Regions from separate parts of the Homo sapiens genome. Here all the other regions are linked to region 4. The links are contacts of gene promoters, found by promoter capture Hi-C in blood cells and fetal thymus (Javierre and others, 2016). All regions are on one chromosome and are shown on one strand. Each heading gives the region's core, a stretch centred on a gene start or on the middle of the fragment in contact. The rest is flanking DNA. Distances are from core to core; before and after follow the strand shown.

The links. Contacts are between HindIII fragments. The CHiCAGO score rates a contact against its expected background, and 5 or more counts as called.
Region 1: a contact is called between a fragment that was not itself captured here and the fragment with the promoter of RAB9B in region 4, in 1 of 17 cell types (naive B cells). The highest score is 5.5, in naive B cells.
Region 2: a fragment that was not itself captured here is called in contact with the fragment with the promoter of RAB9B in region 4 in 1 of 17 cell types (fetal thymus); the score reaches 5.0 in fetal thymus.
Region 3: a fragment that was not itself captured here is called in contact with the fragment with the promoter of RAB9B in region 4 in 13 of 17 cell types (fetal thymus, megakaryocytes, naive B cells and 10 more); the score reaches 11.1 in fetal thymus.

Annotation. Positions count from the first base shown.
Region 1 is chrX:103,569,823-103,575,837 of GRCh38, reverse strand. No RefSeq gene overlaps it. Among named protein-coding and RNA genes, the nearest start is that of TCEAL4, 13 kb to the left of the region's middle. The HindIII fragment of the contact is 1,953 bases long and covers 2,728-4,680 here.
Region 2 is chrX:104,096,585-104,103,297 of GRCh38, reverse strand. SLC25A53 (solute carrier family 25 member 53) reads left to right here. Exons shown (of 2, transcript NM_001012755.5): 2 at 1-4,084. Among named protein-coding and RNA genes, the nearest start is that of ZCCHC18, 13 kb to the left of the region's middle. The HindIII fragment of the contact is 654 bases long and covers 2,620-3,273 here.
Region 3 is chrX:104,116,689-104,122,748 of GRCh38, reverse strand. All of the region lies in intron 1 of SLC25A53 (solute carrier family 25 member 53), which reads left to right. It overlaps LOC286437 (a long non-coding RNA gene), which reads left to right. Exons shown (of 1, transcript NR_039980.1): 1 at 1-444. Among named protein-coding and RNA genes, the nearest start is that of ZCCHC18, 7.2 kb to the right of the region's middle. The HindIII fragment of the contact is 1,901 bases long and covers 2,363-4,263 here.
Region 4 is chrX:103,827,897-103,833,952 of GRCh38, reverse strand. RAB9B (RAB9B, member RAS oncogene family) reads left to right here and starts at 1,696. Exons shown (of 3, transcript NM_016370.4): 1 at 1,696-1,893. The HindIII fragment of the contact is 1,396 bases long and covers 928-2,323 here.

The DNA of each region.
Region 1 (6,015 bases), core at 2,455-4,954, 260 kb after region 4:
CCCAAAGTGCTGGGATTACAGGTATGAGCCACTGCACCCGGCCAAAATACATATAATTTTAAAGTTACAAAAGTGTTATCCTGTGTAATTGGAACAACCAATACTTGAGTACTGGAAACTCATAATCTAAAAGTTGAAAACCTGGCATAGTGGAAAGAATCTAGAATTCAGACTTGGTATTTACTTTAGAAAAGTAACCTCTTCTAGGCCCAGGGGTTAGCCCATCTGTGAAATGGGCATATAATAGTTGAAATACAAATAATGTGGAGAGTTGGTAAGGATACAGAGTAACTAGAACCCACATATACATTCTGGCTGGAACTACAAATTGAAAAAGCACTTTGGAAAGCTGTCAGTATTTACTAAGGTTAAACATTCATGTATGCTCTGACTCAGTAGTTGCACTCCTGGTATATATGCAACAGAAATGAGTTTTTATGTCCACCAAAAGATGTGAACAAGATTGATCATTAAGTACAAAACATAAAGCAATGCAAATGTTCATCAACAGAAGAATAGTGTTATAGTCCTATAATGCATTACAACACAGAAATGAAAATGAACAAATTACAGCTTCAAACAACATGGGATAAAAACACAAATATAGCACTGCTACTTCCATTGTAATCCCTCTGTCACCCTCCTGTCTACAAAACCACATACCTATGGAGTTGAAAATGGGTTCAGGTTTGAGGCCACAAGAAGAAATTCAAAGACAGTGAAAAGGAGAAGCAGCCCCTGGAATTCAGCATGATTGCTGATATCCCCAGTTGTTGGAGTTTGTTAAGAGAAAAATGTGCTTACACATTTTAATTTGAATTAATTAACCAAGTGAATATTGAGGGAGATCAAGCAAATCAACATAGCATTTAGATTTTATTTTAACGTATTTCTTGGCAAGCAGGTTAATGCAGAGAGGCACAGTTTCTATGAGTCTCTGATAGGCTCAAACACTCAGTCTAATGCCATGTCTGATAGAGCAGACGCTGGAGTGAAATTCAAGAGATCGTCCTGGGTTCTGGTGTCAGACCTAACCCAAAACCTACCCGGCCATGGGTAAGGTCCTTCAGTTCTGTGAGAAGATTCCATCTGGGAAAGGACTCTCAGTTACTAGAAGGGACAGAATTCACTATTCACAATTATTTTAACAAGTGTAATGACTATGCATATTATTTATTCTTAAAACAAGATTCCTTATAGTGCATGACAAAATATCTGATCAAGCATCAGGTCCACCCAAAGCCATATGGTCCCTGCCTAGTTTCAACCTCCAAAGGCTGATGTTGTTCACACTTACCTCTGTGTGGAAAGATCTTGGAAGCAGAGGTAGTTAAATTATGGATGGGTTTTGGTATTACTTAGTAATAGTAGAAGCCATGAGGGGCAGGGCTGGCCTATCACATCTCTCAGATGGACCACGGGTCAGCATGCAAGGACTGGACTGATGACCCACTAAAGAGAAGTCTGGGTGCTCTCATGTTCCCCTAATGTCCTCCTCAGGGACTGGGCAAAACCTGCCGATGACCCTAGATTTGTTTTTAAAGTCCCTCAAGATAAGGGGAAAGAGTGGCTACTTTTTCAAACTTTCTCCTCCTCACACCATCCTTATTCTCCTCTTATCCAGTAGTAACAGGCCAGGATCAAAGAGGAGATGGGCAGTAAGGGGCCAGGAATAAGGACCAAACCCATTGTACTGGTGACTGCACTGGGAGCTGGGATTTCATCCTTCCAAGTTGAGGTGGTGGGTTTTATTTTCAGGCATATGTGCTTGGAAGTGAAAAAAATAAGATAACATTCATTTAGCTTGTGTGTGTGTGTGTGTGTGTGTGTGTGTGTGTGTGTCACATTATTTTTCTTAATCAGTTGCCATGTGCTATGGTTTGAATGTTTGTGTCTACTCCAAAATTCATGTTGAAACTTAATATCCAATGTAATGGTATTCAGAGGTGGGGGCCCTAGCAGGTGATTAGGCTATGAGGGCTCTGCCCTCATGAACAGGATAAACGACTTTATAAAAGGGCTGGAGGGAACTGCGTAGGCCCCTTTTGTCCCTACACTTTCCTCCAAATGAGGATGCAGCAACAAGATGCTTTCTTGGAAGCAGAACCTGATCCTTCAACCAGATATCAAACTTGCTGGTGCCTCCTGAATTGTGAGAAATAACTTTCTGTTCCTTATAAATTACCCAGTCTCAGGTATTTAGCAGCACAAATGGACTAACATGATGTATGAGGCAGGAATTATGTCCACAACTACTAGCCCTGAATTTATATCCTTAAATCTCCATGATTGGGAGCAAAAGATTAGACAATAAAGCTACCAAACCTAAGCAAAGAGCCACACCAGTTTCCTCTTCAACATCCAAGGCTGAACATCCCAGGAAGGCTCTTATTGGTTCAGCAGGGTCACCTCCCCACACTCTGGGCCAATAGCTCAGGGGCTGCGGGTCCTACATTGGCTGACCCAGCAGAGAGTGGGGTATGAGCTGCACTCATTGAATGCTCACATCATCTGAGTCAGGCATAATTGCAGCTCATTAAGATTTATGATTTTTAAAAAGACTTTTGACTGGGAAAGAACAGAACTGAATAAGCCTCAATGAAATAGAATACAAATTTCAGAGTCCAGAGAGCTTGGTAAGGGGATTGGACTGTTTCTTGAAATTTATGATATATATTTCTGTGCTTTTTGTTTTCATCATGTATTAACATGAATTCAAAAAAAGCTTGTGATATTTTTATTCCAGTAACACTGTTTCCCCAGGAGTCCTGCTTATAGTACGTTATTTACAGCAGTTAAAGCTGTTTCCCTTAGTCTTTTTTTTTTTAACACAGAATTAGAGCACTCTTGCCCAGTCTCCTTGTTCGTCATGCACCCACCAGGTTAATAATCAGATGTACTCATTGCCCCATCTAGCCTTTCAGCATCAAGCCTTGTTTTTTTTCTTTACTTACCAGATTCATCTATCTCAATCACCCCTGCACTCTCAGCCAAATTATAACGCATTTTTAATGTTCTTTCACTAATGTTTCTATTTACTTTCTGAATTTACAAGAGGAAAATGGCAAAAGCGCTATAACTGTCCTCATGGATTTGATATATTAAAAATGCCTTTTTCCATAATACAATGTGTATGAGACCAATATGCTAGAATAATTTTGGTAAAACATTTGTATGGCACACTGACAGACATTGGCATTTTGAAGCAGCATGATATAAATTAAGTGACTTAATGAAATGTTTTTTTACAAATATGTCCACAGCTCTTTCTCTGAAAGAGAAAGCCTTTTTTTCAAGCCACACATGGCTCTGAAAAAAGCCTTGGTTTCCCAAAATGTTGTCCCAAATGTGTAAGTCAATCATGTGGTACCTCTTTGGGCAGTTTACTTGCAGATTATTTTGTTGTAGTTTTCCAGGTCTCCTCTGCAGTAAAATCCTTTTTCAAGTCCTTTTATAAGATTTTTAAAAATACACCAGATCTTGATAAATAATAGTCTTGATGAGAGGGCTCAATTTTTCTGAATCCTGACTCTAATGATGGTAATGCTAGTATTTTACCATGAAACAAACATTGTATAACTCATTATATTAGCAAAGGAAGTTAAATCATGTACTGAGATTAACTGAAGATTACCCTTTTTTCCTTTAACATCATAAGGTGAATCATACTTGTATTTTACTGGAACATCTTTGTATTTTTGGATGAATCCTGCTTTGTCCCTTTTTGTTCATCATTAACTATGATGCCAGATGTAATTGCTAATATTTTATGTAGGATTTTATATTCTCGCTTATAAATGTCACTGGTCAGAACTCTTTTTGGCATATTTTCCTTACATCAAAATGATATTTTTTCCCTTCGTAATCTGACACCGTTCCATTAAGAGAAAAGAACACCTGTTCCTTAGTGGTTTGACATGAAATACTTTTGGAAGCCTGGCCTTTTGGGATGGTAGCTCACTGGTGACCTCGATTTCTTCTATTCTTCTTAGTCCTTAAATCTCTTTTGTGGGGAGGAGAGTGGGTTTAGTTTCTGTCATTTATATTTTCCACAAATTTATACATTCATTCAATATTTTCAGTTGTATTATCATAGATATTTAAAAGAGATATCCTTTCCATTGAATAATATTTCCTACATTATTTCCCTTTTCTCCCTAAGGAGTTTAGTTAGATGTTTAGTTTAGTAACTTTTTTCAGCCAAGAGCCCTGATATTTATCCACAAATTATACAGTTTAAAGTATGTTTCTAGGACCTAAGTATTGTCAAGAAAACTATTTTTAAATTGTTTATTGCTCATGAATATTTTACATTTTAATAAATATTCCTGTTTTTTGTGTGTGTTGTTTGGAGACCATAGTTTTGTCATCTTTCCTTGAGTCATTGAGGTTTTTGATAAGAATGGGAGGCAGTGGTTTGTTAGCCAGGTCTCTTGTTTTCCACGAGCTCCTCTCCCATGTGGGAGGATTCCTGCTCAAGCCACAGTGGCTTAGCCCAGGGTGACATTAGATTCTGGGTTACTGGACAAATGGCCCGAACGTGGCCAGCATCATTCCTCTGGCATTACGGACCGGGTTATGGAGATCAGAATCACTCAACAAGTTGAAGCTGAAATTGCTCCAATTTAGCTGCTGTAGATGGTATCTTCAAAGTGCTCTTGGTGGAGCCTACAGGAAGCTTTCAGTCAGCCTGACCGTTTCATGCCTTCTCATTGGACTGTGCCACATAGAACTATCCAATCACATTTGCCATTGTGTGGTTTATTGGCAGGGTTTCCTCGAATTACATTTCATCTAATTAGAAATTGTGTGTGTACCCAGTACTTCATTTGAATACAGGGCCTATACATGGGCACCACCCTGTCACCAACCACTATCTTTTTCATTTCAAGGTATTGAAAACAATGTCCGTCATGGCTGAGCATTCTTCTAAATCTGACTTTAATAAAAAGGGCTTTAAGAAAGTCATTTCCAAAACACAGAAGGGGAAGATGTGAAAAGAGATGCTATGGAGACAGTTGAGTAACTGTCTATATTTACATCTATGTTTACAGGGTTCTGAAGCAATTTCATCCTGATATCAGCACTACATTAAATTTCTTGGGCATCATGAATGATTTTCTTATCGACATCTTTGAGCACATCACCACCAAGGCTGGCTGCCAGGTTGCTACACTGAGTGCTCCACTATCACCTCCAGAGAGATCCAGACCACCCGAGCCTGATGCTGTCTGGGGATATCCACAAACACGCTGTATTGAAAACCAAAGGTAAGAACCATGTTCCAGTAACATTGAATCTACTTTAGTTCTTGAAGTGTGATGTCCTGCTAATTTTAAAACATTTTTTTTACAACAAACTAGATATTATCAATTTTAGTTTAATGTATCTATGGTCCAATTTGTTTAAAAAATAAAATAGTGGGTTATACTTAATAATGTTGCATTATACCACTTTACTAACGAATCAGTTCTTTTAGTTATTTTTGTAGGTAAGCCATTCACGGGACCTGTAAGATGTTATCTATATTTTTCATTCTCATTCCCTCACAAATATATGCTGAAATTTTCCAGAGATACCTTATATATTATATTCAACAGATTAATTGCAGGAACATATATAAGAATTCAACAGACTTCTGTTAGAATAAATATTAAAGAGATTTTCAAATAAAAAGTCCATCTCCTTATGACTTGTTTTAGAAAACATATTTTTCATATAAATTTACAATGTAGGTTTACAGAATGTAATGGATATTTTATTGTAAGTTTAACATGAATTAATATAAATATATTAAAAATTTCTGTTTTACTATTTAATATAATAAATATTAACAGATATGACTGCATGAAATTTTAAAGCTTCATTATTTTTAAACTGAAAATAACCTCTTTCTCAGGCTTTGCCGCAAGAGAGGAAGGCCATTCTTTTCCACACCCTCACTGTACAAAATTCATTTGCATATTTATAGACTGGAATTATTTCCATTTCTTTAAGTAACTAAAAGTGTACAGA
Region 2 (6,713 bases), core at 1,697-4,196, 270 kb before region 4:
TTTCCACCTGCAGTGCTCCTTCTTCACATGCCAGTCTACCAAAATCCTTCCAGTTCCTTGAAGCCCAGCTCAGAGGTCACCTTCTCTATGGAGTTCTTGATTTTCCCCAACTGAATGTGACATTAGTCTCTGTGATGCCCCTTTCTTTTTTTTTTTTTTGAGACGGAGTTTCGCTCTTGTTGCCCAGGCTGGAGTGCCAATGGTGTGATCTCAGCTCACTGCAACCTCCACCTCCCGGATTCAAGTGATTCTCCTGCCTCAGCCTCCCGAGTAGCTGGAATTACAGGCGCCCACCACCATGCCTGGCTAATTTTGTATTTTTAGTAGAGATGGGGTCTCTCCATGTTGGTCAGGCTGGTCTCGAACTCCCAACCTCATCAGGTGATCCACCCACCTCGGTCTCCCAAAGTGCTGGGATTACAGGCGTGAGCCACCGCGCCCAGCCTCTGTGATGCCCCTTTCTAACAGCACTTCATACAGGGTACTGATTCCATTATGTCACTAATCTCATGTGACCCTTTGTTCTTGTATTCTTCAATACCTCCTACTAGACTGTAAAACTCATTGAAAGCAGGGATTTTTGTATGCATTTTAAAATCTTCCATTGTGCCTAGGTGCTCAATAACGTTGGTCAAATTACTGAGTTGATTATCAAGCTGTGATATGGTATATCCTCAGGGTGCTGTCCCTTGTACATGACGATAAAGTTATTGACTCACTGTCAGCAAGACACGTGCCTTTGGGCTGTGTTTTTGCTTTCTTTTAATAATTGATTTAGTTTTGTGCTAATGATAATGATGCTGCTACTGATAATAATAATAACAATAATAAAAATTACTTTCAACTGGCACATTTGATGAGTTTATATTACTGATGGCATGTTTGCTATTAGCACCAGTTCAGGAACTGAAATTTCACAAACAGAATCACACTGTACAACTGTACCATTTGTTTCAACTCTGGAATTTTGAGGATTTCCAAGATGACATGTGTTATAGTTTCCCCCTACAGATATCTTAGTAATGCCCTCCTCTTGCATCTCCTTACTGAACCAAATTTGTCCTGTATTTGTCTTACTTGGTTGTAGATTTAGCAGTGAGAACTTCTCACTGAATGCCACAGAAATTAAAGACATGGTTGTTGGAGGTATGATGTCAGAGAGCATTTGCCACCAAGGTTGGCAGAAAATGGCTGGTCCAGGAGAGCTGAAGATGAGCTTCCACATCTGCAGATCGGGATGTGTTGGGACAGTACTCAACTTGTGGATTCAAGGAAGTATGAACACAGAGTCTGCATAAGGAAAGGAAAAAGATGCATTCATCTCCCAAGTACACTGGTGATTTCCACTTATGTCATTCTGTCCATCCATGTCCCTTTCTTCATTTTAACTTCTTATTTAAAAATAATTTCAAACATTTAAAAATGTTGCAAGCATAAATAAAGCTTAAAGAACACCCATGTCCCCTTTACCCTAATTCCCCTATTATTAATGTTTCTCCCCATTTGCTTTATTATTTAAGTGTGCACTCTGTCTATACACACACAGGATATTTTTTCCCTGAACTATCTGAGAGTTGCATACATCAGTTTTCAATATTCCTAGATTCAATGTTTGTAGATCCAAATTATTTTTTAAGAGACCGTGTTTTATCTCTGACAATGGGACAGTTATTACAGAATATAATAAAATGAAAACTCACACAATATATGTGATATTGTGAAATATATACTTGGTCTTTGATCCTGTTTCTTGGCATACAACTCCTAAAATCCTTAGAATTTCCAAAGTGATATCTTTTTGTATGCTAATAATTGACTGATGGCTGGCAGCCTCTGGTTGCTTCAGGATGGGAACTAGTCACCAGGAAGACCAAGGCACCATTAGAGGGTTGGGACTTAACAGCCTCATTCCCGACCTCCAGGGAGGGGAGAGGGATGGAAGGTTAAGTTGATCACCAGTGGCCAATGATTTAATCAATCATGCCTACGCAATGAAGCTTCCATAAAAACCCCAAAGCACTGGGTTTGGAGAGCTTCCAGATAGCTGAACATGTGGAGGTTCCTGGAGGGTGGTGACCCAGGGAGGGCACAGAAGCTCTGAGCCCCTTCCGCAGTACCTCACCCTATGCATCTCTTCATCTCTATCCTTTGATATATCCTTTATAATAAAGTGGTAAACGTTAAGTATTTCCCCAAGTTCTGTGACCCTTTCTGGCAAATTAAACCCAAAGAAGGGGTCATGTGAACTCAAACTTGAAGCCCATCTGTCAGAAGTTCTGGAGGCTTGGATTTGCGACTGGTGTCTGAAGGGCCTGGGAACAGTCTTGTGAAACCTAGTCCTCAGCTTGTGGGATATGACGCTATCTCCAGGTAGATTGTGTCAGAATGGAATTGGAGTACACCCAGCTGGTGTTCGCTGCAGAACTGATTGCTCACTTAGTGTGTGGGAAAACTCCACACATCTGGACATGGAAATATTCTGTGCTGATTGCCGTGGTGTAAGAGCAATGCAAAAAGTTTGGGTATTTTCCCCTCGGAGTATATTTTAAAGCTAAATTGCTAATAATTGCTTAAATTTACTATATTTGCCTTTATAAAAACTTTATGTATGTTGAAGCTTGAAGCTATGCAATTATAATATAAACATGGATTTACAACTAAAGCATGTTATAATTTAAATAATTGAGTTTTTCAAATCGGTTCATATGAAATCCTAGGCAATATTGTAAAATTATACAGACCTGTCAACTTTTTCCACTTAAAAGTTGTGAGCAAAATTTAAGGGCATAGTCGTTTTCAAGTAATTTTAAATGTCAATGTTAATATTTAGTTTAGTGATGTTAATGGAGCTATGTTTTCTGATATTAAAAATGAGTTTTAGGAGTTGAGACCAATAAAATAAGGAGGTAATAAATATCTATATCTGTTTAAACACATAAAATATACAATTTAACACTAAAATTACTTGGTATAAAAAGTCAAAAAAAAGAATAAAAAGCCATCATACAACACAATATATGCGTGATATATATTTTTCTCTAAATATAAACTACATCAGCTTTTATAAAGCTCAAGTTGAAATAATAACGTTTTATGACAAATCATTATATGGTATATTCTGACTTAATTTTGCATTTACAATTTATTTTTAAACACTAAATAGCATTATAATTTTACTGGGATAACTATATATAGTGTAGTATATTAAAGTTAATAAAATGACGTTGCATATGAGAGAAAAAGCATAATAAATCAGAAACAATATAAAAAGCTTTCAGAAAAGATAAAAATATTGTATTTCTCTAGTCTGTTCACTCTCCAGTGTCTCTGGTTCTTTCATATCATCTTCCTTTCCTCAAATCTTTTAATACTCCCTCCCTCATCATTTCCAACTAGTGACCCTACTTTCTATTTCATTAAGAAAACAGATACATTCAGAAGAGAACTGCCAGTTTAAAGAACATTTACAAAGCCATCACCCATGTAATAACCAGCCAGAGCAAGAAATAGAGCCCTTTAATAACCTACTCTTCTCCCCCCACCACTGATGACACCGCTCCCTCCATCTTAGGTGTAGCCCCCATGCTGACTTTTGTAATAATAATTTCTTTGCTTTTGTTTATAAGTTTTCTTCCTTATAAGCATCTCTAAACAACAGTTTTGTTTTACAGATGTTCAAACATTAAATGCTTTTTAGACTTGGAATTGTGACTATCTTGTTTCACTCCACATTGCTTGTGAGACTCATTGATATTGCAGATAGCTGTAGTTGATCCATTTTTATTGTTGTACAGTTTACCATTGTATAAATATACCATGATTTATTCATGATAACTTTGAGGAACATTCTGGTTGTTTGCAGGTTTTATTTTTACAGTTCATTAGTTTTATTGATGTATAATAATTGTATATGTTTATGGGGTATATGTGATATTTTGATACATGTGTACAATGTGTAATGATTAAATCAAGGTAATTGGGATATCCATCAGCTCAAACATTTATCATTTCTTTGCATTGGGAACATTCCAAATCTTCTCTTCTAGCTATTTTGAAATACACAATAAATTGAATACTGTGGTCACTCTGTTGTGGTATTGAACACTAGATCTTATTCCTTCTCTCTAACTGTATTTTTGCACCCATTAACCAATCTCTCTTCATTCACTCCTCTGCAGTACCCTTCCCAGCCTCTGGTAACCACAGTTCTACTCTCCACCTCCTTGAGATCAACTTTTTTAGCTCCCACATATGAGTGAGGACATGTGATATTTGTCTTTCTGAGCCTGGCTTATTTCACTTCACATTTCACTTCACAAAAAATCCTCCAAGCTCATCTATGTTGCCACAAATGACAGGATTGCATTATTTTTTTTATAGCTGAATACTATTAAATCGTGTACATATATCACATTTTCTTTATCCATTTATTTATTGATGGACACTTAGGTTGATTCCATAACTTGGATCTTGTAAATAGTGCCGCAATAAACATAGGAGTGCAGATATCTTTTCAATATACTGTTAAAAAAATTTTTTTGGATATATACCCAGCAGCAAGATTGCTGAATCATAATGGTAGTGCTATTTTTAGTTTTTTGAGGGACACCCATACCGTTTTCCATAATGGCTGTACCATCTTACATTCCCAATAACAGTGTATGAGAGTTCCCCTTTCTCCACATCCTTGCCAGATTCTGTTTTGTCTTTCTGATAATGGCCATTTTAACTGGGGTGAGATGAAACCTAATTTTTGACTGTTACAAAACGGTGCTACTATCAATGTTCTTGGTAGTGTGTATAAACACAGGTATCTCTAGGGCACTTATGTAAGAATGGAATTACTGGTTTATGGAATACGAGCACCTTCAATTTAATTGGATGATGCCTAACTTCCTCATGGCATGTACCAATTCACGCTCTTACTAGCCAGGTTTAACAATTCCCATTGCTCCACCTGCTGGCCAACACTTGGTATTATCAGACTTCTTAATTTTTGCCTATCTAGTTGGTGTAAATGGCATCTCTTAATTTGATTTTCCTGATGACTAATAATGTTGAGCATCTTTTCACTTGCCTATTGAACATTAGGATTTCCTCTTTTGTGAAGCATTTATTCTAGACATTTGTCATGTTTTCCTGTTGAGTTGTATGACTTTTTCAAATTAATTTGTAGAAGTTATTTGTTTTAATTTTAGTTCTTCCTCTTTTATATGTGTTCCATACATCTCTCCCCACCTTGCCACTTATTTTTCCATTTTAGTGATTTCTTTTGATAAGCATAAGTTCTAATTATAAGATAGATATCGAAGTTATCAATCCTTTTTTACGGTAAGTGCTTTTGTGTCTTTTCAAAGGAATCTTTCTATACTCCAATATCATGAAGATATTCCTTTATACTATAATAACATTTACAATTTTATGGTTTTGACTTTCATATTTGGGTTTTTAATATACTTGGAATTAATTTTCGTGTAGCGTATGAGAATAGAGGTCTAATTTTTTTCCTTATGAATATCCAATACCCTAATATCATTTGTTGAAAAGTCTTTCCTTCTCCCATTCAGTTACAATGCCAACTCTGTCAAATATCAAGTTTTCATATATTATTGGGACTATTTCTGACCTGTCTGTTCTATTCCATCAGTTTATTTATCTAACCTTGTGCCAGTACAGCATTGCCTTATTACCTGTAACAGTAATAATAATAAATGTCTTGATATCTGATAGGGAAAGTCTTCCCACTTCATTCTTATTCCTCAAGAGTTTCTTAACTATTCTTATTAATATGTACAGAAATAGATGCTGAGATTTTCTTTTCACAAAATTACTGTTGAGATTTTAATTTCAGCAAAACTTAACTGTTGAGGGTTTTTTTGTTTGTTTGTTTGTTTTTGAGACGAAGTCTCACTCTGTTGCCCAAGCTGGAGTGCGGTGGCGCGATCTCAGCTCACTGCAACCTCCACCTCCTAGGTTCAAGCGATTTTCCTGCATCAGACTCCTGAGTAGCTGGGACTACAGGCAGGCACTACCATACCCACCTAATTTTTGTATTTTTAGTAGAGATGGGGTTTCACTATGTTGGCCAGGCTGGTCTTGAACTCCTGACCTCGTGATCCACCAGCCTCAGCCTCCCAAAGTGCTGAGATTGCAGGCGTGGGCCACCGTGCCCAGCCAACTGTTGAGTTTTAATGTAAACAAAAATAATGGTTGAAATTCGAATTTTAATGTTTCTCCAAGTTTCATAATATCCTTCATAGTGTTCAATATATCCTTTTTGGGATTTTTATTTGTTGCTTTGTTAAACAATTACTAACAGTAAAGCAGATTATCACAAATGGGATTATTATGAGTTTCTTACATATAATGTCCTTCTATTTTAAGAGAAAAAATATATATCTGTTAAGAAATCAATTTATATGTGTTGATGCCTCATGTTGACATATTCAGTATAACATATTAACATAATGTACTATGTTATTATCTATAAAGATGCCACTAATTCCTTAGGTTTTCAAAAAGTAAACAGCAAACCTTAAAAAATTTATTATGATAATGGAGATGGAGTACAAAAAAGGTCAACTCTGAGATAGAGTACATAAAATCTCAAGATATCTGTATCTAACTGCCTATTTGATATTTTCACTGACATATAGGCATTCCAAAACTTAATATGTCAAGATTAAACTCTTTATTCTCCCTACCAATGTGTC
Region 3 (6,060 bases), core at 2,064-4,563, 290 kb before region 4:
TTTCTTCTCAGACTCCCAAAAGCTGGATTGAGGAACATGGCTTAGTTGGTACAGTATAGCAAAATGTCCTGCTTGTTGAAACTGAATTTGTGATTATCTTCTTTTTCCTCAAGAAGTCATTGAGGGCTGTTGTATCCCTATAAAAGGAGAATTTAGAGTAGCCAAATAAAAGGGGGCTGAAGTAGTCTCATTACGGAAAAAGAGAGTGTGAGCAGCCTTTTAGTAATTGATTGCCTCAAGATGTGGTATTCAGCCAGGGTGAAGGGAAAGTAGTTGGGGCTGTGGATCTGGAGGTTTACAGAAGCCTTTACCCATCCTGAGACTCAGTTCTGCTGTTGGTCTTCAGAGAAGTGTCTGCACCTGCTGAGAAGAAATCACACCACTGCACTCTAGCCTGGGCAACAGAGCGAGACTCTGTCTCAAAAAAAAAACAAAAAAAAAAAACAAAAAAAAGAAATCAGACATCTAAATATGTACAAAAAACTAATAAACCTCTGGAAAAATGGACTCAGAATAAAGACATATACAAATAAAAAATATTTGGAATGCGTACTAAATGCCACTGAATTGTACACTTTAAAATGGTCAAAATGGTGAATTTTTTGTAACTTTTACCACAATGAAAATTTTGGAACAAAAAGGGGGGATAGAACTATGGGTAGAATACAGAAGAATCAGGCCAGGGATGATGGTTCACACCTGTAATCCCAGCACTTTGGGAGACTAAGGCGGGAGGATCACTTGAGGCCAGGAATTTGAGACCAGCCTGGGCAACAGAGTGCGATTGCCATCTCTACCAAATATCTATGTTCATATATATATATATATATATATATATATATATATATATATATATATATATATATATATATATCATACCATTTGATGTGATGTCTAGTAATTGCTTTAAAATACTTCATCAAAATGTGGGGGATGAGACAAATTATGCAACATATTGATAATTCTTGAAGCTGAATGATGAGTACATGGGGATTCATCATTCATTTTCTATAATTTCATGTGGGTTTGGAAAGTTCCATTGAAAATGTTAAAAACAACCCGCTCCTCCTGCCAAATCATTTGAAAACTTAATTTGGGGAGTTTCTTAGAGCTGAGTTGACCTTTAAATATTATTAAGTATTAAAGTCTCTAGTAGCTCAGAGTTAAAGGGTATTCCCAGCAAGTTTAAGAGATGAGGAAGGGCCCTGAATGTGAGCCAGAGCTACTAAAGTAGGATGTGCCACAGGCCACCTCTCTTTCTGCTCTGGTTCCTGTGAAACATAGTGCTTGTTCCAGTAACGTCACCTCTAGGAATGTATCCTCAGGAAATAATCGTTCACATGTGCAAACCTGTATGTGAATAAGGATGCTTTTCTCAGTGGGTTTATAACAGTGAAACAAGGAAACAAGGTAATGAATGGCTCTAAAGAGGCTGGTTTAATAAATCATGGATACAAGTAAATAATTGGATTTAATGCAGTTATGAAAAATAATCTAAACACCTTGGACCTCAGTTGCCTGGTTTTTAAATGAAGAAAGCCAAAGAAGAATTGTATTCCTCAACTAGTTTTAGGAGGCCAGCAAACCTTTGATACCAAAATCTCACAAAGACATTATACAGAAAGGAAAATTACAGGTGAATCTCTCTTACAGACATAGATCTAAAAATCCTAAACAAAATATTAGCAAATTGAATCCAGCAATATATAACAATTGTAATAAATCAGGACCAAATCTTGTTTATTTCAGGAATGCCTGGTTGGTTTATTATTAGAAACCCAAATAATGTAATTTAGCATTTTAACTAATAAATGAGAAAAAAGCATATATAATAGATACAGAAAAAGCATTTCATAAAATTCAGCATCCATTGATTATTTTAAAAACTTATGGTAAATTAGGAATGGAAGGAAACATTTTTAAACTGATAAGTGGTATTTACTAAAAACCTGCAGCAAGCATCCACTTAATGTTGAATTGCTCAAAGTGGTCCCTTGAGTTCAGGAATAGGACAAGAATGTCTCTTCTCACTAGTTGTACTCTAGGTCCCAGTCGATGCAGTAAGGTAAGAAAAAGAAATGTATATGGATTGGGAAAGAAGAAATAAAACTACCATCATTCACAGATGACATGCTTGTGTATGCAGAAAATTCTAAGGAAGCTACAGATTAAAATTATTAAGAGATTAGCAAAGTCAGTGTACAATATCAACATCAAAAGACCAGTTATATTTCTATATACCATCAACAAGCCCTTAGAAAATGAAATTTAAACCAATATTTAATTTATAGTAGTATACACAATTACCTTGAACTAAATGTAATAATAGACGTACAAAACCTCAAGCAAAAGTTATGAAGCTTTGTTGACAATGTCAAGTGTTTGTGAGGATGTGGAGCAACAGGAACTCTCAAACATTGATGGTGGAAGTGGGAATTGGTACAACTTTGATATACAGTTTGGTGGTATCTAGTGAAGTTGAAAATATACACAATCTATGAGCCAGCAATTCCTCTCCTACATATATACCTTGTGTGTGCACATATGTACCAGGAGACATTAAAAACATGTTCTTAGCAACATTTTTCATAATTGTCCCCAACTGGAAACAGTCCAAATGTCCACCGACAGTAAAAGGATAATTTCTTGTAAAGTCGTAGAATGGAAAGCTGTAACACAATACTGAGAATGATGAACCGATGCCGCATGCAACCAGGTTGAATCTCAGAAGCATAATTGTAAGGGCAATGAGCTGGATATAGAAGGATATATGCATTATAGTTCTATTTACATAAAGCTCCAGAAACAGTAGTGTTTGGGCATCTATATTTGAGTGGTAAAGCTATAAAGGAAAGTAAGAAAGCAACAGCTAAAACTGTCATGAGAGTGTTTTGTTTTGTTTTGGAGAGAGGAAAGAGGTTGTGATTGGGCAAGGACTTATGGGAATTTCTGGAGTTCTGATCTGTTCTGTTTCTTGATCTTTATGGTGATTTGCTTTATAATAATTTGTTAAGCTGTAAATTTATATTTTATGCACTTTCCTCTGCTCCCCCCGCCCCCCGCTTAAAGAGTGTTTTAGAATGTGGAAATTTTAAGATAAGATCTATCTCAGGGCTTGTTGTAAGAATGAAATGAAGTATAAAGCCATGTAGAGCTTGTAGAATATGCCTGGCACTTTGTAAGACCTTAATAAATGTTAACTATCTAAACACAATACAGATTTGCTGTTATTATTGCTTCTCTTATTTGTTGCCAGCCCTGCCCCCTTTCCATGATATTTGTTGCCAATGTTTCTCAGCTTACTGTTGGTATTTTATTTCTGTTAATGCTGTCTTCTGAGTTATCAGTCTTTTCTTTTATACTTTCTTTCATTACTCTTAACCATAGAAAGTTCTCTCCAACCCAGAGGTTTAACATGTATTGTGTTGCAGCTTTAAAAGGGGTTGCTTTTGAACATTTGATTCTTTTTATTCATTTTATAACAAAATATACGATTAAAGAAGAATTAATACATAATTGCATAAAATCTACATTTACTGCTCAAATGTATCTGGGATTCATATTTAGTGTCATGGGAGAAAGGAAACTGACCTTTTTTCCAATCAGGTAATGAAGTTCCCCCCAGCACCATGAATTGAACAATTTATCTCTCCTCCACTCATTGTTGCAGCTGTCTCCTCTTGCATACATCAAATTCAAAACCATTTGCACCAAAAGCATAGACTGGAAACTTGATACCTGAACTGAATGTGATAATGCAACTCTGAAGGGGGAGGGGATGGTTGCCAGGCAGCAGGAAGGATAGCTGCAACAAGAGGATGTGAAAGAAAGGTGGCCTGTGTCACACAAGTATTCCTTAAAGGCTGCATCCTTGTGTATGGCGCACAAGCCACTTGCTGCTATGATATTTGGCTAATTATGTCTGTTGACCTTGCTTTCCTCATGTATCATCTTTATATAATAGTAACACCTACCTCATGGGGTGCTGTGCACATGATGGCTAACTCAAGTAAGGAACACAGACTTTGGGATCAGTCAGTCCAGTGTCTTATCCTTGACTGTACCACTAAATAATTACATGACCCTAAGTACGTTTCCTAACTTCCCAGCCTGTTTCATCATCTGAAATATGTGTCAATTAATAGTAATTAAATTAATAGCAAGTTAGAAATAGAAAGTCATGCTTATCTTAAGGGAGTTGCTATGAAAAGCTAATAATGCATTTTAAAGGCTTGGCACTGGGTGCCTGGCATGTAATAAGCTTGGAATAAATCGCACTTGCAGTGATTTTAATTTTTATTGCTATTGTGGAAGGATCAGGAAGGGAAAGAATATTCGGCAAAAGACACTGAGAAGTAGGCATCAAAAAGATCTGGGAGAGGGAAACCATGAGATGGATGTCATGGAAACAAGGGAAAATAGTATCAAGAAGGAGGGAGATATTGCAAAAGGAGGTCATTCAAAGGCTGGTTTCTCCTGACAAGACAAAAGAGCAATTTTCATCTCTTGGCGACTAATGAGAATGAAGGGAGAAAGGAAAGGAAAAACAATAATTATAAATGAAGGGTATCAAACACAAAATTTTTTAAAAGCCTTCTTTCACTTAACCCTGTAATCACTCCAAGTCTTCTTTGTCTTCCAATTAGGGAAAATACATACTTCTTGAATAAAGGAAAGCCAGTGTGACACAAAATGAAATAAAAAGTCTCACTTTTGCATCATTTTGGTGAAGTAAAAATTTAGACAGTTTCAGGTTTACACAACAGAGGACAGGATGGGGGGGAAGGAAAGGGGATGAATTACACAGCAGGGTTTCAAAGTAATGATCTTGAACCTCCAAGCTAACTCCAGTGAAAAGGAGGATGGGGGTAGGTGTAGCATTTATTCCTCTTTTCACTCTACCTGGTTTCAGAAAGAAATTATGACAGCATATCTAGGTAAATCATTCAATAGCATTTATAGAGTGAATTTGAGAAAAGGTGAGCAGCAAGGGGAACTATATTCTAATCTTGGAGAGATGAGTGGGCAAATCCCCTCCAAGGATAGACTTTGGGAGAGGTAGGGAGGAATAGGGGGCTGTAAGAGCCAGGTAGTGTTGGGGGACCCTGTGGCTTTGGGGGCTTGATGAAGCTGCCTCCTGCGTGGGTGGTGGGGTCCTCTTTGCCTGTGGTGAGATGGAGGTGGCTGCCAGGAGCCAGAGGTGCCCCAGAGGGATGCAAAAAGTGGGTCTCTTGGACCTTTACTCCTGCTCAGTTCTCAGCTAAAAGGTCAGAGGCAGAGGGGCCCTCCCAGTCTACTGGCCATGAGCATTAAGGAGGCTGAGGCTTAAGGCCATCATGGAATGCGGAGGAGGGGGAGGTGGTGATGGGCAGAGCACATGAAGCTGAGCCTCCATCTCCCTCCACCAAGAGGTGAGTGTGGCTCCAGGGAAGGGGAGTGGTGGTAAAGTGAGACTGTGATAAAATGGATGGAGCAAGGGGGATAGGAATGAGATTGCGGGGATATGGATGAAGCAGGGGGGATCTGAATGAGATTGTGGGGATATGGATGGAGCAGGGGGGATATGAATGAGATTGTGGGGATATGGATGGGGCAGTGGGGATCTGAATGAGATTGTGGGGATATGGATGGAGCAGGGCGGATAGGAATGAGACTGAGGATACAGATGGAGCAGGAAGGATCTGAATGAGATTGTGGGGATGTGCATGGAGCAGGGGGGAACTGAATGGGATTGTGGGGATATGGATGGAGCAGGGGGGTATGAATGAGACTGTGAGGATATAGATTGAGCAGAGGGGATAGGAATGTAATTGTAGGTATATGGATGGAGCAGGGGTGATAGGAATGAGATTGTGGGGATATGGATGGAGCAGTGGGGATAGGAATGGGATTATGGGGATGTGGATGAAGCAAGGGAAAGGGCCCAGGGAAGAGCAGAGTTGGAGGTGATTCTGGAAGGAGAGCACTCCAAGGTGGATTCTGGGCCTGGCAGCCCCGGGAAGGCTGCATTGGGCTCCTTGCAGTGTGTGGCTTCTACTCCTCCCTGGGGGCCTCAGCCTA
Region 4 (6,056 bases), core at 447-2,946:
AAATGAAAAAGTAGTCTAGATTGTTACACCTAAAGACGAGTTACTCTAATATGAAGGACTGTTATTTAAAGCATTTCACAAAACTATTTATTGAGGTGCAAAAAGAAAACATTGGAACATCAATATATTTATTTTTCTCATTCTTTTAAAATTTCTGTGGAGTATTTTAATGTTTACTCATTAAAATGTATGTTTAAAGTAATGTGTAATGTATACATGTACAGTAGTACATGTATATAATCTATAAATCCTTATACATATGTTGGGGCCCATGCTCAATAGTTTTTTAATAGACTAAAATGTATGCGGAAAATTTGATTTAGAGGATTGTGTGAATCTCGTCTTCATCAGAAGAGTGTTTTAGAGTGTATGTGTGGGGAACGGGGTTGGTTTAAATAGGAGCACATGAGATTCAGTTACATCAATTTATTTTATTTAAATATAACAACTATTAGTGATACAGCATTCATTCATATTCAGCAAATATTTTCTGAGCATGTCCTATGCAGCAAGCATTGCCCTAGGCTCTGTGCATACGGTGGTGAACACAAACGTTGTCCTTGACCTCATAGTCCTTCCCCACTATAGTTTAGTAGGGAAGACAGCTGTCAACCAAATAATCATACACTTAAATGTACCACCAAAAATGGGTAAGTGTTATGAAGGAAAAATACAGCAAGTTACAGGAGGCTACAAGAGTATAAACTGGGGCACCATCTCTATTCTGAGATTATCGAGAAAGGTTATCCTGAGAAGTGACATTTAAGCTGGGGCCTGCGGAGATTGATTGCACGATTGCCTTGTCAAGAGACAGAGGAAGAGTGGCCTAGATGGAAGTAGCGGGTATGTGTGAGGGCCTGGACGGGGTCATGAGATGAGTGAGGGCCTGTGCCACAAGGTCACAGGGTTTCGGGCAATGGGGAAGCTTCAGAGATGGAGCTGCCTGACAGAGAGGTGGAGTGCAGGCTAAATGACCTCAGGAGCTTTGTCCTTCTTCAATTCCAGGGGGAAAATCACAAACTAGTTGGAAGTACCAGAGGGCTACAGAAAACAACAAAAAGAGACTAGCTGGTCGGCTAGGCACAATTAAAACATCAAATTCTGCCCCAGCAGCAATTCCGGGAAATTCAAGTAATGCCCCCTGTGTGGCCCTCTAGAACTGTATCTGGTAAGAGTAAAGGGCAGTGTGTCCTCTATGCCTGCGCTACAGATGTGGACATTTTTTTTAATTGCCTGAAAATTTCATAAGCTGTAGCCAGTTAGAGGGCCTAGCAATGTGTTGTGATCATGTGTTTTCCTGAGTTATTTGAAACAAGAGGGTGTATGTACTACCCTCTTGGCAAAATTAAAGGATTTTGAGCTAGGATAAATGAGGTAGATCAGAGGATAATTGCAGGAAGTGGGGCAGTGGCTAGCCCTGCTTGAGGGCTTAGGCCCAGGCTGCAGAGGAGCTAAGTGGAAGAGCAATATTTGACGGTCTATTGCCGCTGTGCCTACTAATCGGCTAGGGGAGGAGAAGGAGGACAAGGGAGACCAGGGTTGGACGATGAGCATGAAAGAAGAGTGGGCGAGCCAGGGAGCGCTTGCCACATGGAGGGCGGGAGGCGGCTACACCGGGTCCCCACCGCCGAGAAAGGGGCACGAGGAGGCGGCGCGGGCCCCGCCCCCTCCCCTGGCGGGCGCGGGCGCGGGCTCGAGACGCTGCGCGGCGGCAGCGGCGGGCGCGAGCGGCAGCTGTCAGGCCACCGAGGTCCAAGCCGCACTTGCTGCCCCATTGAGGACGAGGAGGCAGCAGGAGCAGTGACGGTGACTCTAAGGAGCCGGATTCCCGGCACGCAGAGCTGACCTGCCTGGCACCCGCGGCCCTCTCCTGTTTCCTTCCCATTGTGTTGGGTAAGGTGCCTGTGCGTGGGCAGGAACAGGGGCTAGGGGCTGGAGGACCCGGAAGGCCGGGAGGTGGGGGGCCTGTGAGAAGAGGGAGAAAGGAAAGTCTAGTTGATCCCCAGGACCACTCGTAGCTTGAGAAAAGGGACTGAGCCGCTCCCGAGGTCGGAGTCGGGGGCAGGTGACAGTGCAGGGGGGCGTTGCTGAGTAATCCCGAGCTGCTGCCAGAGCCGAGCAGAGAGGCGCAGGGCTCCGTGGGGAGCGGGTGTGGCTCAGTGCGCATGCGCCACAGCCGACTAGCTCTAAGAGCTGGGGGTGAGGTGAGAGGACCTGGGTCGGAGGTAGTTGGGACTATGTGTGACATCTCACTTTCTAGGTCCGTAATGCTAACAGTGCCCCTGTCGTAGAGATGCCAGCATTCTTGTCTCCCAAGGAAGCTTTTTTTCCTTGTGTTCAGCTCGCTTGATGTCATCCAAACCTTATCTACCTATCTGTCCCTGGGCAGTCTACTGAGGAAGAAGTGTCCTGGGGACGATGCCAGATTGCTATCTAGTGTGCCTTTGGGCTTATAGCCCTAGAGCTGTCGTTGTGAGCAGTGAAAGGTTAGATGTGGGACTCCACATTGGACCCTTTGAGTTGCATATAGGATATAAATGTGGGCATGAATGTAGGAATAGCGTTTCAGTGGCATGACAGCTGTGGCATTTGGAGTCGGCATGGATGTAGCTGATAACTTGTTAGCTCTGCAAAATGAATCCAGTGCGTCAGAGGGTTTCCGCGCTACGAAGCACCCACCACCAGCACCAACGCCAAGTATTGGGTTGTATTGGAAACACACTCAAACATTCAATCATTTCTCATCCGTGTTGAATTTTACATAAATATAGCCGCGCCCAATTCTTCAGTGCAATATTTCCAATTATTGTGCCAGCATTCAACAGTGAGTTGAGTAGCCCTTACCAGTGTGTCGCCACAAGATGGGCTTTCCCCACAGGTCCAACCATGGCTCCTCCCCTGTACAGACTTCCAACAGTGCCACTCTCATCCAGTGCCTAGCCCTCCCCAGTTGCTCTTCCCCTATCGATCCCTGCAGTACACATCCCTTTCAAGACTTGCCTCCGAGCAATCTGCACTACTGATTTTGAGCATCATTCCACTCCATGGCAACTGAACTGATGCGAATTTGCTTTTCTGCCTCTCTTCTCTCCATCATCATACTAAAATGTACTATTTTCAAAGGTTCAACTTCTTTTTCTTCATTGTACTGCCTCCTCCCCCACCTCCACTCCCACCTCTAAGCATTCCCAACTAAATACAATAATTTGAATAAGGCTTTGTGGGTACTGCAGATTCAGAAGGTTTCAAGTGTGTTAAAGAACAAAGAGCTGGGGAGTATTGGTTATGGAAATTCCTAATTCACCTTACTCTCCAAGACTGAGACCCTGATGGGAAAAAAAAAAGTTAGTAAACTATCCTTAGAGCATGCTCATTAATGAGTTTGTGGGGGTAGGAAAGGGGAATTGCGTCTCTCGAATATTTTACTCAGTTAGAGTCAGATCTTTCTCTGAATGGGATCAAAATCAGAATAAGCGTTTTGGTCCAAATGCTCGCCCGACAGAGGACCCATAAGGGATGCATACGTCATTTGACTTTCCTATTTACGTATTTAGTGTTATCAAAGAATTCATTTGCCTGCTTAATGTTACCTTGTTTAAAGGTTTGGATTAAATCCGGCATATTCTGGGGGAGGAAAAAATGATTTCATTTGCTTTTACACTGTGCTAGTTCTTTTTAATTTAAGTATGTACTAAAGGACATGACATTCATTTTCAAACAATGATAAATGATTGTGGAGAGGCCAGCACCCACCGACAACATCAACTGGATATCATTATTCTGCTCTTGTTTTGGGTAGGAATGGGGAAATGTATATACTTATTTTTAAAATGTGAGAGTAGGGGGAGGAAAACTGGAGCATTTCCCTTGACTTTCAACAGGTGGAATTCCCATTACTCCCCATCCAGAAAATGATCGAGTCAAGTTCATAACTTCTGCTCTTTAGTTACCTTATAAATAATAGTATTTTGGCATCTTACAGAACTATGGATCTATTGTACCTTGGCATCAATTCAGAGGCATTAATTCTGGGCACCTACCTAATCATTTAATTGGTAAACAAATATTTATTATCTCCATGGAGGATCCTGGTGCTGCACACTGAAGGGGCTTCAAAGATGTATACAGTGAGCTTACTATCTAGGAATTTAAAATTGATCATGTAAGAAAGACAGGAAAAGTTTGTTAACAAAATAAGTCAGTATAATGACATTATTTCAACTGTAAACAATGAGATCCTGAGCTTGCATGTTAATTTGTAAACTCCCTGAGGGCAAGACCTTGCCTTAAACATTTATTAATTCCCAACAGTATCTACATCCAATGGATGTTTGAGTGATGAAGCTTTGCAAAGTAGATTGAGTGGGGAGACACCAGAAGCAGGGAGAGAAGAACTTTCACAATAGATTAGATGTGAGAAATTGTGGGCCAAAATGAGGATGGTAGCACAGGACTAGAAAATGATACTTCAAGGGAAAATCAGCAGGATTGAATGAAGGCAAGGAGACAAATCTAAACTGTATTCATTTTTACTTCTAGAAAATAAATGGGAGTTGGAGACAGCAGAGGAGAGTGGAGGGTTTCCTTAGTAAGGACACAACACACAATAGGCACTGTAGTGTTTTCTCAAATATCAGTAGCAAGATTGGACCAGAAGACCCTGAAGGTCCCTTCAATGCTGAGATTCTGTGCCATATGCAGATGTTCAAGCTTGTTGAGGAACAAGGCATTCTCAAATATGGAAGAAAGAGAAAAGGAAGAATTCTTATACTTTCACTAGCAGGCCCTTTCTGAGAAGGGTTAATACTGAGCCACAAGGCCCCCACCAGTGCATGAAAGGAGGTGGAGGAGCCAGAGGAATAAAAATCTCAAACCAAATTTTTCAAAAAATGCTTACAAATCTTTGCAAACTTCATAAGCTTTTCATTCTCCCCCAAAATCCTGTTAAGTAGGGCAGGTATTATCTGCTCTATTTTTATGTAAGAAGATACTGAAACAGAAAGATTAAATGACCTGCCCAAGTTCATAAAATAAATGAATGGTGTAACAGTGATGAAGACCCTGGTGTCCTGATTACTGCCAGCTAGCTCAGTGCTCTTGACACTGAACCACATTGCTTTTCCTCTTTTTCCCTTGGCATAGAGCCTATAGGCCCAGAAGTTATGTGTGCACATAACCAAATAGGGAATGCACAAGCAACTGCAGCATTATCTCAGACAGTTATTAATACATCATCATTATTCCTGGAGCTGAGCATTTGGTTTCCATATTCACTCAGTCCTTGACCTGTCTATTGAGTTTATCTGCAACTGGGAGAATAGGGTCAGTGAGTCTTTTAATGATGTGAACGCCTGTTTGCTAGGAACTCAAGGAAGCTTGTGTGGCCTGGACGCTTAATACTAGCCATCAGAATCATGCCCAAGTTTGTACTTCTGTTGCTTTTCAAAATGAGAGTTCAAGAGTTTTGCTCTGTAAAATTATCCTACAGACCAGTATAAAAAAATAAAAAAGTGTGCTAACACTTGTTTCATCTCCATTTAAAGAAATGTTTGTTACTTGAGCTAATTCCAAAGACAGCAATTTGGGAGCAGGAAAAAGAGGACAAAAATTAGGAATTGTAGGAAACTTGAGAATTCTGTAGAGTGTATATAAACCAAGAAGGAGGATAAAGCCTATCCATTTAGGAGATATTATTTAAATTCATAATTACTGATTTAGATATCTAATGAATCCTTATTATAAGTTTTATCTATATTTAGAAAATAACATGTGATTATTAAGCAGCAGATTTTTTTTTAAAGCTTCGTTCTTCCTCAGTAAGAAATAACACTACACAGATCTAGGCACTGTTTTTCTTCTTAAACCAGTACTCTTGATGCTGCTTAAATAAGATTCTTGCCATAATTAATTATAATATTAGATGAATGTATATTTAAATTTAATAACACCAGCTAAATATTAAAACTGGTGTTTAAGACAGATGAACTGCCAGGTACAGCGGCTCACGCCTGTGAACCCAGCACTTTGGGAACATGAGGTGGGCAGATCGTTTGAAC